Regions from separate parts of the Homo sapiens genome. Here all the other regions are linked to region 1. The links are contacts of gene promoters, found by promoter capture Hi-C in human tissues and cell types (Jung and others, 2019). All regions are on one chromosome and are shown on one strand. The core of a region is centred on a gene start or on the middle of the fragment in contact, and the rest is flanking DNA. Distances in the headings are between cores, read along the strand shown. Region 1 holds the start of SOX2 (SRY-box transcription factor 2). Region 2 overlaps LINC01206 (long intergenic non-protein coding RNA 1206). Region 3 overlaps SOX2-OT (SOX2 overlapping transcript).

Evidence for each region. Contacts are between HindIII fragments. The study calls those that stand out against the background at their distance.
Region 2: a contact is called between a fragment that was not itself captured here and the fragment with the promoter of SOX2 in region 1, in 3 of the 25 tissues and cell types used here (heart right ventricle, lymphoblastoid cells and spleen).
Region 3: a fragment that was not itself captured here is called in contact with the fragment with the promoter of SOX2 in region 1 in 2 of the 25 tissues and cell types used here (aorta and dorsolateral prefrontal cortex).

Annotation. Positions count from the first base shown.
Region 1 is chr3:181,710,439-181,714,039 of GRCh38, reverse strand. SOX2 (SRY-box transcription factor 2) reads right to left here and starts at 2,115. Exons shown (of 1, transcript NM_003106.4): 1 at 1-2,115. The coding sequence starts at 1,679. The coding sequence ends at 726. The region is part of intron 6 of SOX2-OT (SOX2 overlapping transcript); the gene reads right to left. RefSeq lists enhancers at 274-1,125, 1,126-1,979, 1,980-2,832, 2,833-3,601, a silencer at 2,215-2,274 and a promoter at 1,854-2,887. The HindIII fragment of the contact is 19,833 bases long and covers 1-3,601 here.
Region 2 is chr3:181,985,165-181,988,984 of GRCh38, reverse strand. All of the region lies in intron 5 of LINC01206 (long intergenic non-protein coding RNA 1206), which reads right to left. Among named protein-coding and RNA genes, the nearest start is that of LINC01206, 35 kb to the right of the region's middle. The HindIII fragment of the contact is 4,000 bases long and covers 1-3,820 here.
Region 3 is chr3:181,424,228-181,427,670 of GRCh38, reverse strand. All of the region lies in intron 3 of SOX2-OT (SOX2 overlapping transcript), which reads right to left. All of the region lies in intron 3 of LOC102724604 (a long non-coding RNA gene), which reads left to right. Among named protein-coding and RNA genes, the nearest start is that of SOX2, 290 kb to the left of the region's middle. The HindIII fragment of the contact is 3,615 bases long and covers 297-3,443 here.

The sequences.
Region 1 (3,601 bases), core at 866-3,365:
TGCCCTTTTTAAACAAGACCACAGAGATGGTTCGCCAGTACTTATTCTAATTTTTTCCTTTTGTACAATTTTTAAACAATTAAAATGTCCAAATTTGAATAATTTTCTTCTTTTCACGTTTGCAACTGTCCTAAATTTCAGCTGCAGAATCAAAATTCAGCAAGAAGCCTCTCCTTGAAAAATATTGGCAAATTCTCAGCTTATAAACAATGGACATTTTGATTGCCATGTTTATCTCGATAAATACTGTACAAAAGTTGCTTGCAAATATTAAAACATTTTTTTCGTCGCTTGGAGACTAGCTCTAAATATTATTGGTAAAGACTTTTGCAAACTTCCTGCAAAGCTCCTACCGTACCACTAGAACTTTTAAAAAGTTTTTCGTAGCTTTCTTTCCTCCAGATCTATACAAGGTCCATTCCCCCGCCCTCCCCACCCTCCCCAGGTTTTCTCTGTACAAAAATAGTCCCCCAAAAAGAAGTCCAGGATCTCTCTCATAAAAGTTTTCTTGTCGGCATCGCGGTTTTTGCGTGAGTGTGGATGGGATTGGTGTTCTCTTTTGCAGCTGTCATTTGCTGTGGGTGATGGGATTTTTTTTTTTCCTTTTTCTTTTTGAGCGTACCGGGTTTTCTCCATGCTGTTTCTTACTCTCCTCTTTTGCACCCCTCCCATTTCCCTCGTTTTTCTTTGAAAATTTCTCCCCCCTCCAGTTCGCTGTCCGGCCCTCACATGTGTGAGAGGGGCAGTGTGCCGTTAATGGCCGTGCCGGGCACCGGGCCGCTCTGGTAGTGCTGGGACATGTGAAGTCTGCTGGGGGCGGCGGGTTCCGGCACCTCGGCGCCGGGGAGATACATGCTGATCATGTCCCGGAGGTCCCCGGCCTGGCAGGGCGCCCTGGAGTGGGAGGAAGAGGTAACCACAGGGGGGCTGGAGCTGGCCTCGGACTTGACCACCGAACCCATGGAGCCAAGAGCCATGCCAGGGGTGCCCTGCTGCGAGTAGGACATGCTGTAGGTGGGCGAGCCGTTCATGTAGGTCTGCGAGCTGGTCATGGAGTTGTACTGCAGGGCGCTCACGTCGTAGCGGTGCATGGGCTGCATCTGCGCTGCGCCGTGCGCATTGAGGCCCGGGTGCTGCGGGTAGCCCAGCTGGTCCTGCATCATGCTGTAGCTGCCGTTGCTCCAGCCGTTCATGTGCGCGTAACTGTCCATGCGCTGGTTCACGCCCGCGCCCAGGCCGGCGCCCACCCCGACCCCGCTCGCCATGCTATTGCCGCCGGGGGCCAGCAGCCCGCCGGGCAGCGTGTACTTATCCTTCTTCATGAGCGTCTTGGTTTTCCGCCGGGGCCGGTATTTATAATCCGGGTGCTCCTTCATGTGCAGCGCTCGCAGCCGCTTAGCCTCGTCGATGAACGGCCGCTTCTCCGTCTCCGACAAAAGTTTCCACTCGGCGCCCAGGCGCTTGCTGATCTCCGAGTTGTGCATCTTGGGGTTCTCCTGGGCCATCTTGCGCCGCTGCCCGCGGGACCACACCATGAAGGCATTCATGGGCCGCTTGACGCGGTCCGGGCTGTTTTTCTGGTTGCCGCCGGCCGCCGCCGCGGTGGAGTTGCCGCCGCCGCCCCCCGAAGTTTGCTGCGGGCCCGGCGGCTTCAGCTCCGTCTCCATCATGTTGTACATGCGGGCGCTGTGCGCGGGCCCGGCCCGCCGGCGGCCGCCGACCCTCGGCCCGGCCGGGACTTTGGGGGGCCCGCGGGCGGGGGGAGAGGAGGAGGGGAGGCGGGCGGGGGTGTCGGGAGCGCAGGGCTCCGCGAGGAAAATCAGGCGAAGAATAATTTGGGGGAAAAAAAGAGAGAGGCAAACTGGAATCAGGATCAAAAAAAGCGCTTCCCTCCTCCTCTGGCCGATCCTGCCGCCGCCGATGATTGTTATTATTATTTTTTGGAAAGGCTTAAGCCTGGGGCTCAAACTTCTCTCCCTTTCTTTCTCTCTCCTCTTCTTTCTCTCAGTCCTAGTCTTAAAGAGGCAGCAAACTACTTTCCCCCTTTTGCAAACACTCTCTTCTCTGCCTTGACAACTCCTGATACTTTTTTGAACAAGTTAATAGACAACCATCCATGTGACGGGGGCTGTCAGGGAATAAATGGGTTTCTAGCGACCAATCAGCGCGCGGCGGCTCCTCCACTCGAGCCCAGCCTCGCTGCCGGGTTTTGCATGAAAGGGGGCGGGGCCTCCCGCGCCGCCGGCCGCGCGGGGGAGGCCGGGGGAGGAGGGGGCAGGCGAGGAGGGGGAGGAGGCTCCCAGAGCCAGCCTGCCAGCCACTGAGAAACCTTTGTATCCCCTCTCGCAGCAACAGGTCACACCACACGCCTTTTCGAAGGAAGTGGGTAAACAGCACTAAGACTACGTGGGTTTTTTTTTCTTTAAACTTAATATTGATTTACTTTTTGGTGCAGGGTACTTAAATGAGGATGGGACGCGGGAAGCAGCTAAGGTGCGGGGGTGGGGCAGGGCACAGTGGGTGGCTCAGGGCGGCTGTCCAACTCGTATTTCTGGAAACAGCCAGTGCAGGAGTTGGTGTGTCATTGTTCTCCCGCTCATCCACAGCACTCCCCCCCAACTCCAGCCCCTCTGGTGCCGCTCCCGTACTGCGCTCTTCCGCTCTCCTCTCTTACCTTACAGGTGCCAACACTCTCTCACGCCCTTCTCACAGTCCCGACTAGAAGTTAGGAGACCCAAACCTCTGTCCTCAAAACCTTCCTTGCTTCCACGTAACTTGCTCTGTTCTTAAAAATAAATCCTGCTCGGACCATAAGGCAGACTCTAGAGCTGAGAACCAGCAGGCCTTGGTAAGCTGCCATCTCCCTGTCCAACTCAGCTCTTTGGCCCAGGAAACTGCAGCTCTTCCTCTTAGCCCCAGCCACATCTCCCACTAGACTGTCTTCATTCAACCGTAGCAAAGGGGATGCTTCTACTGTCTGCCCCCACTCCCCATTCCCATCCCATGCCTCCCCGTAAGAAGGGTTTCGGTCGTGCGGCTTTCAAATGGGGGCTGGGGAAAGACACAGACGGAAGGGCGCTCAAAAGTGCAGGCGATGGGGGAGGGTGATTTCAACTTCCTGGCATCCCACGGCACTGTATGGAGGTGGCTTTTGGGCCGCAGTCACAAACTCCCTCCCACGCAGAGTTCCCAGGACTCCAGCAGAACCAGCCCTGGCATTTTCCCCGTAGATTTCCATTGTGGTGGCCGCAAAGCCCAGGCCGCGCAAGGCTGGGGCTGCGCCGCAAAGGGGCTCAAGGCCTGGGAGGCGGGGTCGATGCTCTCCAGGCACAGGTGCAGGCAGCGCACACTGGGAGAAGGCGGCCGGGACTGGGGAAGGGGGAGCCCAGCAAGGCCCGGGTTAGAGGAGGATGAGATGGGGGCGGGGGTAGGGGCTCAGGAATCTTGCCCGCCCAGGACCCAAGAGGGTAATTTTAGCCGCTCTCCCATTGTCCCGACGTAAAGATTTCAATAGGTAGGCGCTCAATGCGGAGGGCAATGGCAGCACGTCCGTTACAAATAGGTAGTTTTGTTTCTCTTGTTGTCGCTACACGGAGTCAAA
Region 2 (3,820 bases), core at 629-3,128, 280 kb before region 1:
TAAAACATGTTGATTTGGCAATCATATAGATAGAAGCATGTAGAGTATCCAGAATTCCAGAATTCCATAAATGTTAGCTGTTTTTCTGTTTTTTGTGTTTTTTTTTTTACCATTTATTTCAGGGTCAGGGGTACATGTGCAGGTTTGCTATACAGGTAAACTTGTGACATCGTTGTTTGAGGTACAAATTATTTCAGATTCTTTCTTAATCATATTTTATTTCCATAGTCACAAAAGAACAAAAAAAAATTTTTTTAAATCTTTGGGTTGGTTTTCTTTGGTTTGTGTTTTACATCCACTTAGTTTTATAACTCAGTAGAGCCTGCAAACAGACAACATTCTTTTTCATAAGATGAACTACGTCTGTATTTTCTCTGTACAGAAATAAATGTAATAAGCCAGGTCAGTGGTGATTAATTTCCAGAACAAAGGATTTACCAGGTGGAAAGCCAGAGGGTAGGCAGTATAAGACTTACAGGGACAGAACCCTTTGGAAGGCAGAATTCTATTCAAATTCAATTAAAACTATGCTCTCAATCCAAAGGTAAATGATTCTGCTTAAAGTTTTTTGTGCCTACTATTTCCCTAGGGCAAGAGCCCTGTAAGCAGATACCTTTAATTGTGCCAGCTCCTTTTGTATTTTTCACAATTAGCCTATCTCCAATTATATAAACACATACACGATTACAGTCTTTGGTTATGGAAGGTATTTACAGGAAAATAAAGGTAACTTTAACTTTGAGAGTTGGTTTTAGGACAAACAAGATTAAAGCTTATATGGATATACAAAATAATAGACTAATGCTATTGTCTGCTTCCCTTAAATTATTTTATTAGACGGAACATATTAATTATAATGAAAGCAAACTTGGACTCTGGGTTTCTAAAGAAAATTCCTTTGTAGCATCACAGCAGGATTTCCTACCATTTTTCTCTTTCTGATGAAATTAACTTCCCATAGTTGGTCAGCAGGATAATCTAATTTTAGCCAATCAGCTTGGGAGCTGCTGTTGACCTCACAAAGGGAGAGAAAGGTATCTGCAGTCATAGCAACCACTCGCTCAGCTCCGATCATCTCTCTGGACCCTTCCGCCTAATGACAGACACCCGCTTGCTTCTTAGATGATTAATCTTTTCCCCTGTGAACCTCCTTGAATACATTAGCCAAACAAGTCTGATAAATTTGTTTATCCCAAGACAATCATTAGAAAATTACCTGCAAAACTAATTCTCACTAGAGCAGTTTGTGAATGGAAAGCCATATGGCAGATAAAAACAGAAATATGCAATAAAATCTCTTGCTGTATGTCACAACAGGTTAGGAAACTTTTTTCCACTTTGAACTTTATCATTTTTTGCTAAATCACAAAAGCATATTAGCCTAAAAGCCATTTTCCATGAGCAAAAGAACATTGATTCTAGTCACTAGTCACTCCTCCAATCAACACTACACGCCTACTATGCGCTAGGGGCTGGGGATGCACCCGCGAATATGAGCTATTGCTGGCTTCCACAATCTCACATTCCAGTGGGAGGAGACAGATGTATAAATAGATAATTACAACATACTATAAGGGCAGTAAAAGAGGCAAAACTGTGGGCTCTGAAAGCATTGGAAAGAAGTGGATAACTGTTTTCCAGAATCAACTAAGATTTTACCGTAGCAACATTCAGATTAGGTAAAATAGCAGGACTTTTCCAAGAGATAGAATATTCTTGGCAAAGAAAATAGCATTGGAGAAGCATGGACTTATGGACAATGGTGATAAACTCCTGGGCAGCAAACTGCAGCAGCTGGGTATTGGCTACATCTTTTTTTCCAAGAAGTTGGACTGAAAAATGTGGATTGTAACGGGGTTGAAGTACCCTATAGGATAGCACATGTTAGGGCCTCAAGAAGACTGAAACAACGGGGATGGACAGGAAGGGCCACTTTGGAAGTTCTGATGTTGAATCAAAAGAATAAAATTGTTGGTGTACCCTTAGTGATGCTCCTCACTTATGGAAAGAAAGAGAAGACAATAAGCACGTGTGTGGCCACACTGCTAATATGGGCCATTTCCATACACAGTCACTAGATCCACCACTAAAGGGTCAGTTCATTGAGTGAGAGACAGGGCTGGGTTTCTGTGTTGTTAGGTGCTCCAAAATGAGAGAAGGTATTTAAAGCAGCTGATGAGACAACTGTAACTAGTTGAGTAGGGTTATTAGTGTGGGCAGAACCTTACTGACACTATAGGCTTTTATAAACCAACACTAGACAAACTTCACCAAAATCAGGGCTTGAGAGCCAGGTGTCTGGACCAGTAGCCAAAGCTGTCTGAGTCCAGGTGGTGATGCTACGAGTGGTAGGACAATTGGGCCCATGTCAGTTCTGCAGCCACGCTGTGATTTCACCAAGGCAGGCTTCAGAAACGCTGACTGGAATGAAAGGTGTCATGTAGGTAAGCCTATCATTGATTAGGTTCTCCAAACCAATTCAGGAGCTTTACCAGGACATGTGCTCTAGGTCTAGACTGCCCAAGCTTGAGAATTTCTACATCTGCGGTTCTGTGCGAGTATTCCAGTCCAGGTTTCTAATTTTCTCATGCCTTGCAAGAAGAATGTTGCCCACCATAAATCTGCTCCACAGAAGCCTCAGAAAGGAGCCAATCATTAGACTGAGGAGTCTCTATTTTCTATATTTGCCAAATTTTTAACGGTGAGCATGTATTAGTTTTGTAATGAAAACATGTTTTTAAGAGATAGAAATTTCAACATAAATTACCTCAAAAGCTGTTCTTCTGTAATAGCAAATACACAAGTTGGACACAATTATCAGAAGCACTTACACAATTATCTGCACTAGGCTGGGCATGGTGGCTCACACCTGTAATCCCAGTGCTATGGGAGGCTAACGCAGGGGGATTGCTCGAGCCCAAGAGGTCAAAACCAGTCTGGGCAACAGAGTGAGACCCTGTCTCAACACCCTTCCATGGCCCCTGCCAAGCAACTGCACTATACCAGGTCCTGTGCAAAGCCCTTCACAGACTTGAGTCATGTAATCCTCACAGCAGCCCCTAGAGAGGGACTCCATTTTACCAAAGAAAAAACAGCATTGGAAATGTACAACTGAAAGAAGGAAAGAAAAGAAAAGGAAGGAAAGAAAAAAAAAAAGAAAAAAGTTTTGTCAAGGTTCCAGATAAAGAGAATATTGCCTGGAAATTAGGTTACTACTAAAGGTTATTTTATTTTTAATTTCCATCCAATGACTATATTCTGAGCACCTGTATGTCAGGCTCTGAACTACAAAAAGAAACAGGTGTTCTGGTGGGGAGGCAGGCACATGGACAACTAAATATAAGATAATGTGATACGTTCCTTTAGAGTGGGCTATGCAAAGTGCAGATATTAGCCCATGTGAACCGTGTCTGAGGAAGCAACAGTTCCACTTCACTGTGTGCCAAGCTTCATGCTTGAGACCTGATAAATAGTACTTCATTTATACTGCATGACAACCTCAAGGGGTGCTATTTTTCTCTGACATTTTATAAATGAGGAAAATCAAGCTAAGAGGTTATAGAGCTTATCCAAAGTCATATAACTATTAAACAATAAATCTAGAATTTGAACCCAGATCTATGTAATTCTAAAGTTTGGGTGCTTTTCACTATGTTGTAAAGGTAGAAAAATACACTCGAGTCTGGGCGCGGTGGCTCACGCCTGTAATCCCAGCACTTTGGGAGGCCGAGGTGGGAGGATCAAGAGGTCAGGAGTTCGAGACCAGCCTGACCAACATGGTGAAACCCTGTCTTTACTAAAAATAACCAAAATTAGCTGG
Region 3 (3,443 bases), core at 855-3,354, 290 kb after region 1:
AAGGAATAAATAAGCTTGGTGGTTAAACCTATTTTTTAAAGATTTATATTGTAAAGTTAAATTTTTTAGTGGAATGTACTCAGTAAAAGTAGACCAACAAACAAACCCTCTGATTCAGTCAACTTTGGTTCTAAGGAACACTCACTCTCAAGCCTGAAGATTTGTATTTATTGATCATAAATTAAAAACAGTGCTAATGTGGTTTGTGATATCTTCCTGAGAATTCTAATTACAGGTCAATAGGCCCATTAGAAACCATCAGGAGTGTTGAGACCATCCTGGCTAACATGGTGAAACCCTGTCTTTACTCAAAATACAAAAAATTAGTTGGGTGAGGTGGCGGGCACCTGTAGTCCCAGCTACTCGGGAGGCTGAGGCAGGAGAATGGCGTGAACCTGGGAGGTGGAGCTTGCAGTGAGCCGAGATCGAGCCACTGCACTCCAGCCTGGGTGTCACAGCGAGACTCCGTCTCAAAAAAAAAAAAAAAAAAAAGGAAAAAAAGAAACCATCAGGAGTGAGTAGTGCAGAAAAAGGCACAGAGGGGACCAAGCATTCCATAGGGCCATGCATGGCTGAAGCTTCTATTTCTATGAATATGTTTTGGCTTCCTTAATCCCTCACCACCAATTTCACCATTGTGTCTTCACTTTTATAGCAGATTTACGATGTCATGTAGACTCAGCCTCTTCTCTTCGTAACATCCTGCTCAAACCTCCTGTATCCTAACACCGGAGCTTAAAATGTAGTTCAGCTTTATGATAGGTGGAGTGGCAGGGTCTTGGGTATGTTCAACTTGAGATTGCTGAGGATTGTGCTGTCTAATTTGGGTGGTGCTAGCCATATGGAACTATGGTGAACTTGAAATACGACTAGTGGGACAGAGAAACTGAGTTTATTAATTTAAATTTAAATTTAAGAACTAGATTTAATGTAAAAACTTCTAAATATCTTTGAAATAACTTGGATGTGTGTTCATTTGTTCAACTGTAAATTTTATGTAATCGAAACCAACTCTTCCTAATCAAAACTCAGCTCCCAAATTGAGATGTGCTAAAAGTATAGAATATATGCCATATTTTGAAGCCTTAGTAAGAAAAAAAAAAGTATAATACCTTATTAAATTGTTTATGTTGGGTACATGTTAAAATGTTACTATTCTTGGATATACAGGGTTAAAGAAAGTATATTATCAAAATTAATGGTATCTGTTTCTTTTTACCTTTTTTAATGCCACTACTAAAATATTTTAAGTTACACATGTGGCTCTCACATTTCTTTTGGATTACATTGGCTTAAGGGCCAGGCAGGACCTAAGGTGAACTAGGGGCCTTTAACCCTTCCTGCTTTATCACTTTGGAAAATTAACAAGACTAAAATTATTTACAACTCTACAACATTAGCTAACATTTATTGAATACCTACTAAGTGCCAGACACTGCTCTAAATTCTTTACAGGCAAACAATTTTCATAACAACTCTTTGATGGTATGATTTTTATTCTCATTTTAAAGATGAAGAAATGAGGCATAGAGTTGAAGAAGTTTGTAATTGGTAGAGCCAGGATTTAAACCCAGATATATCTGATTTAGTAGTATTCACAACCAGTGAAACAGAAAAATTATATTTGAAATATGCTACTTAGTACAAGAAACTGGGGTGGTACTTTTGTGAGCTCTACTTAAGGAGTCATTAATGCATTATACAACATTTATGGTCACTGAATGAGTGAGTCTGCTGGTTGATCTACCTAATACCAAAAAATAATGAAGCTTGCTCTTCATATGCACGAATAAATACAGAGCTCTGTTTGTCAGGTATTGTTAAAATCTGACAAACACTAAGTGAACTCATGGAGCTATTTTAAATAATAATCAGGATTATTTGTTTGTTGCAAACACAAAATGCCAAGAAATCCTAACTTCCTTGTGGATGAAGTGAAATTAATTTTCTTTACAATCAACTTGTCCGCAAAATATTTTACACTAACATGCTTTTAGTATCTGTATATTTGAATGTACTTCCTCTCATTCATAAATTCATTCATTCATCTTGAATTATTAACTGAGTGTCAATATGTTGTAAGGACTGGGTAGGAAATTGTCATACGAACAATCTAAGAAGGGAATTTGTGCCTGGAGAAAAAGATAGTGTAAATGGGGATTTATGGTTCTATATACCCAGTCTTCCTGTGAATTATACAAAGTTTTTAACTGTATTGTTACAAATTTTTAAAGGCTGCATTTGTAAAATATGTCGTTTTTATTTTCTTAAAGTTTATGTTTGGATGACATTAATACTCAAAACACACATTCTCAGTATTGGTTGGACATTTTAAAATTGGCATAACAGAGGATTCAACACTCGGTCTCAGCTGTTCTGGAAACAAGGCAGCTGCTGAGTGAAAACGGATGCCAGGAAGAACCATGCTGAGGATAAAGCAAGGACATTGTGGGAAGCACAACTTTATAATAACTTGAGGCATTCCATCTAATGACATTATAATTTAGCTCTCACTTATCAGGTAGTGCACCAGACAGCTCCAACTATCATTTGTCTAGCATCCATTAAGTATTGTCTTCCTTATAATAGTTAGCTTTGTGTGTTGGACAATAATGAGGTGAGGGGAACCATCAAAGGCATATGAGAAATAAACCTTAATGACAACAAACAATTTGTCAGACATTCTTTTCCTCCAGCTTTAACATTTGGGTGCCATATAGTGAATTAAATGATCTAACCCATCTCATTCATCACTTGAACCACAGAACAAATGGTTAAAGTCAAGCTTCTCTGGAAGATTACCTGACAGGTGATATATGAAGCCATCGAGGAATTGTATGATGAAGGGACATTAAAGATGACAACTGATGTGTCAGGCTTCTAGGCCAGTTACTTTCATTTTGTAACAGGAGCACATACATTCCTGGCTAAATGGTGCAGGCTAACTTAACTAAGTTTGACTTGATATAGACTGTGGACTTATATCCACAGTTTTAAGGGACGACAGCACAAATACGTAGAACATAATTACTGATGTCACTTTCTGTAACATTTATTCATTTCATGAATGCTTACTGAGTATTAACTTTAGGTCAGCACTATTCAAGGGGCAAGATTTTTCTTTTGGAGACTGAGAAAGTTAATAGGTCCTGTTCTGGATCACTAAGCAAGGAAGCAGCAGACCAGGGGCTCAGGCAGAGTTCTTCTGACTACAAGTTTGGTAATGAGAATGGCGGAGCATGCTGCTTCTCAGCACCCAGTGATAAGTAGTAACTTCCATAATACTTCCACCACCTCCTCCCACAGTGAAAGCTGCTCCAGCATAGCAAGACCTGGCTGAATTTGTCTACGTAGATAGAGAATTTGACATAAAGTAACCTGAATCTGAGCTGTAAATCTGACGTTTAATTCTCTTTCAAGTTGAAGAAAGAACAGAGAAGGCA